2 separate regions of the Homo sapiens genome follow, and region 1 is linked to region 2. Evidence: promoter capture Hi-C in human tissues and cell types (Jung and others, 2019). All regions are on one chromosome and are shown on one strand. Each heading gives the region's core, a stretch centred on a gene start or on the middle of the fragment in contact. The rest is flanking DNA. Distances are from core to core; before and after follow the strand shown. Region 1 overlaps SPATS2 (spermatogenesis associated serine rich 2). Region 2 holds the start of TUBA1A (tubulin alpha 1a).

What was found. The method cuts DNA at HindIII sites, captures the fragments that hold promoters and counts their contacts. A contact is called where the count stands out against the background at its distance.
Region 1: a contact is called between a fragment that was not itself captured here and the fragment with the promoter of TUBA1A in region 2, in 2 of the 25 tissues and cell types used here (dorsolateral prefrontal cortex and lymphoblastoid cells).

What each region holds. Positions count from the first base shown.
Region 1 is chr12:49,515,263-49,518,329 of GRCh38, forward strand. All of the region lies in intron 10 of SPATS2 (spermatogenesis associated serine rich 2), which reads left to right. Among named protein-coding and RNA genes, the nearest start is that of KCNH3, 22 kb to the right of the region's middle. The HindIII fragment of the contact is 7,896 bases long and covers 1-3,067 here.
Region 2 is chr12:49,187,592-49,190,762 of GRCh38, forward strand. It overlaps TUBA1A (tubulin alpha 1a), which reads right to left and starts at 1,489. Exons shown (of 4, transcript NM_006009.4): 1 at 1,386-1,489. The coding sequence starts at 1,388. RefSeq lists enhancers at 1,168-1,759, 1,258-1,377. The HindIII fragment of the contact is 17,236 bases long and covers 1-3,171 here.

The sequences.
Region 1 (3,067 bases), core at 557-3,056, 330 kb after region 2:
TACACGAAGACAAGGGAATACCAACTGCAACTTGTACAATGGCATTGATTTGAGGCATTTCGGTGGCAGGTTTTATCTTCCTGCATTGAACGCCAGATTAATTATTAGGAAAGTTGTTTATTTTAACCCACCCCCAAACTGGTAAGAATAGAAATGCTGGGCTAGGTCGAGATCATGACTCACAGTTAAATCACTTGTGTGTGTGGTCACGGGCCAGAGGATGCAGCTTTGAAGCACTGAAATGACTTCAGCTTTGGTCCATTTTAACTTGAAAATTTGAGAATGTAGCAGAGATGCCTTCCACTGTTTTTCAGAGGTGAGATTTCATTACATTGAGCAATATATTTTGAGTTTCTAAATTTGACATTTCAGTCCATTATTTTATCTGTATATTCTCTTTTTGAAAATGGAAATGCAGATAAACTAAAACCACTAAGAAGACATATTTCTTAGTTTTGAGAAGAAGGTCCTTTTAGGCCAGGCGTGGTGGCTCACGCATATAATCCCAGCACTTTGGGCGGATCACCTGAGCCCAGGAGTTTGAGACCAGCCTAGGCAACATAGTGAAACCTCGTCTCTACAAAAAATAAGAAATAAGGCTGGGCGCAGTGGCTCATGCCTGTAATTCCAGCACTTTGGGAGGCTGAGGCGGGCAGATCACGAGGTCAGGAGATCGAGGCCATCCTGGCCAACATGATAAAACCCCGTCTCTACTAAAAATACAAAAATTAGCTGGGCATGGTGGCACACGCCTGTAGTCCCAGCTACTCGGGAGGCTGAGGCAGGAGAATCACTTGAACCCAGGGGGCAGAGGTTGCAGTGAGCCGAGATTGCGCCACTGCACTCCAGCCTGGCAACAGAGCAAGACTCCATCTCAAAAAAAAAAAAAAAAAAAAAAAAAAAAATATATATATATATATATATATATATATATATATATATATATAAATCAGGCATGGGGTCATGTGCTACATGTAGTCCTAGTTAGTTGAGAGGCTGAGGTGGAAGGATCACTTGAGCCCAGGAGGTCGAGGCTGCAGTGAGCTGTGATTGCACCACTGTACTCCAGCCTGGGCGATAGAGCAAGACCCTGTCTTGAAATTAAAAAAAAAGAAGGTGCTTTTAAGAATATTAATACATCTTTTATATTAATAGAAAATTTTGGCCGGGTGCAGTGGGTCACGCCTGTAATCCCAGCACTCTGGGAGGCCGAGGCGGGCTGATCACGAGGTCAAGAGATCAAGACCATCCTGGCCAACATGGTGAAACCCTGTCTCTACTAAAAATACAAAAATTAGCTGGGCATGGTGGCATGCGCCTGTAGTCCCAGCTACTCGGGAGGCTGAGGCAGGAGAATCACTTGAACCCAGGGGGCAGAGGTTGCAGTGAGCCGAGATTGCGCCACTGCACTCCAGCCTAGCGACAGAGCAAGACTCCATCTCAAAACTAAAAAAAAAAAAAGAAAAGAAAAGAAAATTTCAGATAGCGAGGCTAATGTAACAAATTCCCATCACTCAGCTTCAACCAATTATCAATTTGTGGCCAATCTTATTTTATCAAATTCAGAGCTCAAAGTTTTACTTAACTTCATCAGTTTTATATCTTTAGCTCTTTTCTCCCTGAAAATCCTGGTTCTCAATGATATTACTCATTTACCAATGCTATCAAGAGTAATTACTCATTTACCAGTGCTATCAAGAGTTGCTTTTTGTTTTTTACATATTATAATTTTATTAAGTAACTGATAGGTTTGTAGTATTTCAATCTTTTCCAGTGTTGTATAATTAGGTCCTATGAGTTATCTGTTACGTGTAGAAAGCTTTTTATTCACCTCATTTTTGCCATTTTGAGAGCTATAATTTTGTCATAGAATCACTGAATGCTAGAGCTGAGAGAAACTGAAGTTGATACAAATGGCAAATAGGTTTTATCTTGGGACCTAAACCAATAGATCATTTGTAACTGTTGGGCTTTGGCGTTAAGAAACTTTTGTAGGCATGCTCCTGACTCCTGAGAAAGTGGGCCCTGATTGATTAGTGTGACTTGGGTCTAGGCAGCCCATGTGTGCATCTCTGTGGCAGTTGGGCTGAGTAAACTTGCTAAATACATCCAGCTCTCTGTAATACCTGGTGTAACTCTTTAAAACTTCTGTTTTTTTCTGACGTGAATTTGGCTAATTCCTCAGTGTGTTACAGGATTCTATGTATATCAGTTAGGGATTGAGTTTGACTACATGGAACAGAGTGGCCTAAATAAATGTGAGTGTCCTTTTTTCTCAGAAAATGAAAAGTACAGAGGTAAGCAACCCAGGGCTGGCAGGACATTTCCCAGATGACATTAGGGACCCAGGATCTTCTGTTCTTCTGCCCAGCCATTCTGAGAGTATGCTTATGGTCAAAAGACAACTCCCTAGGCTCCAGTCGAGAAGGAGTAAAACGTTACATGCTAAGACTCCCTTAAAACGCTTTCCTGTAAAGCCTGCCCTTTGAGTTCTGCTTATATCTCAATGGGGAAACTATATCACATGGCCGTTTCATCTGTAGCAAAGCCAGAAAATATAGATTTTTTTTTTACCCAATTATGTTGGTACCCAACAACATTGGATTTCTGATAGCCCTGAATGTTCCTGAATGTAGTTGGAAAGACTGTGTTCCATCAGCTAATGGTCTTTGCTACAGTCCTCCACTACCCAGTATCCCTCTTTTTTCCAAAATGAGAATATGTTCACCACCTCCTCAATAGCAATACCTCCAAAGTCTCATCTAGTTAGTTAATATTCAGCTGAAAGGCCAGGTCTTCAGAGTGATTTCAGATCTTCCAAGGATGGGGTCTCATAAATTAAAAGAAAGGCTAAATGCCCCCTTCTCCCATATTACATAGTTGGAGAAAGAAAAGGATAATTATAGTAAAAATTCCCACTTGGAAAAGCAATGATCAAATCTTGCTGGATGGGAAGGAATAGCAGAGTCCCTTCCCTGGTAGTAGAGAACATTCGTTGGGTGGTTTATCTGCTTCCTGGGAGGATTTCTTTGGTTTTGTTTCCACTGTAGCCCCTGTCTCTCTGGGA
Region 2 (3,171 bases), core at 239-2,738:
ATTACTTTTTTTTTTAAAAAAAAAGGTTTTTCCAGATCTTCTCCACTGTAAAAGCTGAAAAATTATCCGTATCTTAACACACACACACACAAAAGTTCCTAAGTTAGAAACAAGCATCACATGAAAAGGTACCAAAGAATAAAAGCCCAGTGGAAGGATAATGAAATATTTATTTAAAACAACAAAATAGTATTTTCATCCTGAGATTCTCTACCCATCACATAATATTCATATTCTTTGCATCCAATAGAGGTTTTCTTCTCTGTGGTCTTTAGGGCTACCACTTTCATTGTCTATTCGCTGATGTGGTGGGGGCGGGGCGGGGGGGCGGCGGGGAAGGGCGTTTCCCTGGGTCCTGACCATCAGGGTACCCTGGGGCTCACAAAGTGGGCTTTCTCCCTCGCTGAACGTGCAGTCCAGACAGACAGACAGACACACACACACACACACACACACTTCAGTCGGTCAGGGCAGGGCGTCCCACAGACACACACACACACACACACACACACACACACACACTTCAGTCGGTCAGGGCAGGGCGTCCCCAGACCAGACATTAAAGAGCTTGTGAAGTGAATTATGATTTTGCTCAAGAAAAAAAAAAGTCATCTAACTTATAATAGTGAAGAAAACCCTTTTGGAGCCTACAGTTCCGCAATGATGAAAGGTTTTTTTGTTTTTTTTTCAGTCAGCTCCTGACAGAAGAGGTTCAGTGAGGGCGAACCCCGCCCAGTGGCTCCAACGCCATAGAAGCCAGAAACAAACAACCCCGCCCCTGCGCCGCCCTGACACCCGCTGCCGGGGGCTCCGGCAGAAACTCACCATGTTTTCCCGGGAATGTGTGGGTATCTTTCCAAAACGCCAAAGACCGCGGAGGGTCTTCCCACGCTAACCCTAGGCTGCGCTTTGTTCCCGTTCCCCCTCCCACGTCCCCCAGCTCGCCCAACGCCCCCGCTCTTTTTGGGTGCCTCCTCCTCTCCCGGTCCCCAGAGAACAACGCGAGACAGAAAGTGGCCCCTCAGCATCAGCGAAACCGTGCGCACAGACACGGGGCCCAGCCGGGACGCCCCAGACCCCTCGGTCGCGGCAGACGGGCTGCCCGCGGCCCCCGAAAGTCTCTCGGATAACACAGGCGCCTAGGCGCCGCCTTTGTTCCTCCCCAGCGCTCTGCTGCGCCCTGGGCGCAGTACTGGCCCGGTTCCTGCACCCGCACTGCGGCGGCGGCGGGGCTTGAGGATTTGGGGCTAAGCTAAACCTCACAAAACATACCACCACCCTCGCCCAGAGAGCTTACGAAAGAAAAGAGCTTAAAGGTTTTCCAAGTAGAGCCTGGGGGCGCTGACTCCACCCAACGGCCACAAAGAGCCGAAGCCGATTCTCACCATGGTTGCTGCTTCGCGACTGCCGAGCTGATGGCGGAGACGAAGAGGAGAGGTTGTTGCTTCTTACAGCGCGACTCTTAGGCGGTCGATGTAAGAGAACCTGCGGCACATAGGCGGATGCGGCTCCCTATATACAACTCGGTCACCATGGGGATGGGCCGGGGCCTTTTCCTGTTGGTCCAGACCCCCAATCTGCCCAGAGAAGCCATGACAGGAGACTGGTGATTGGTGCAAGCGACGTGGGATGAGGTAATCTCTCCCCCACCCCTTTTTCTCTAGCATCCGTAGACTGTTTGCATCCTTTAGACAAAGAGACCGTGCAGAAGCAGTCGGCCGAGCATCCATTATGGGGCGGGGTTGGGGAGGGGCGGAAGGAGAAGAAAGGGGACTGGGGTTAGAAGACTTTCTGTTGCTTAAACCTCAAACTGCAGTTAAAATTATCTATGTGAGGTTTTTTCCCCCTACCCTTAATAACAATTTATGTTTAGATTAAATATTTAAAGGAAAATGACTGCCAGCCCCTCCCTCGTAGTATATTAAACTCGACTACATTTTGTTAGGGTTCAACATCTCTAATTGCTTTAAACGTAAAGTGGGAGGGAAAATCGGCATGATGCTCGAAATGGCCTGGGTATATGTGATTTTTTTAATTTAAAAAAAGATTTAGCCATACGGTCATTCCAAATGGTTTCTCAGGTTCAACTAACTTATTTTCAGAGCTTCTTCTGCAGGCACACGCACACCCGAATAGCTAAACAAAACTGGAAGATGGAAAGAATAACCATATTAAATAAAGAAGCGAACAAATAGTTCTAACATGGCAATAATCAAGAGCAAGTGAACGTAGAGTAGTTATAATGGTTTACTAGAGGTATTCTTTTATGAGAAGTCTATGTAACACATTTTGTATGGTACATTGTCCTTTGGAATGAATCATCTTTCCTGATAGAAAATTGGGAAAATACAAGGAGAAATAATTGAGCTCAGAAGTTAGTACTACATGTGTGCAGTTACATATCTGAATTGGACTTTTGTCTGGAAAGTAACAAGCAAAATAATAGTAATAACCAATACACCAAATTAAAAAGAAGAAGAGAATAATATAATGTAAAAAGAATTTTGCAATGTCGCCTCCATCCACAGACAACTGTGAAACATCAGCTCAATAAACGCATTTCCTTTTTATGTAGTTCTTATGTCAATTTGGTAAATATCCTCCTGCGAGTGGGCTTCTAACTGTGGGAATTTTAGCCGGCCTCACACCCTTGCTGTTCAGCTAGAGACTCTGGTGGTTGCTCAGTTGTCCCTTGGGACAAAAAGGCTTTGCTTTCACCCCTAGGAAATAAATTGGAGTAAAATTATCTTGATATTTAGGAAGCCTCCATTCTCAGCAACGATCCGGAGTAAGTCACTGGACTTCGTACCACTGGATGTTGGTGATGAAATTTCAGAGGTAAATAAGTTTGGCCACTAAAGTTGAAAATTTATTTTTTACAAATAATTTTTCCTTTTGGTTTTCAGAGACAAATTTTCAGGGTCTGCAGCACTACTCACACAGTGCTCTGCGGAACCCATTCATTCCTGCTAGGCTGGCAGGCTAAGAAGGGCGTGGGAGGGAGGGACTTGAGAATACAGCTGCTGCAGGTTGTGGTGTGACAATGGCGACCACAGATTTTTCTAGCCTGCCATCCACAGTTCTGCTTTACTTGATCAATTTTGCTTCAGTAATATTCTCTGGAAAAAAAATAATATCCAAAATGCAAAAATCATTTTATCTACTTATTGT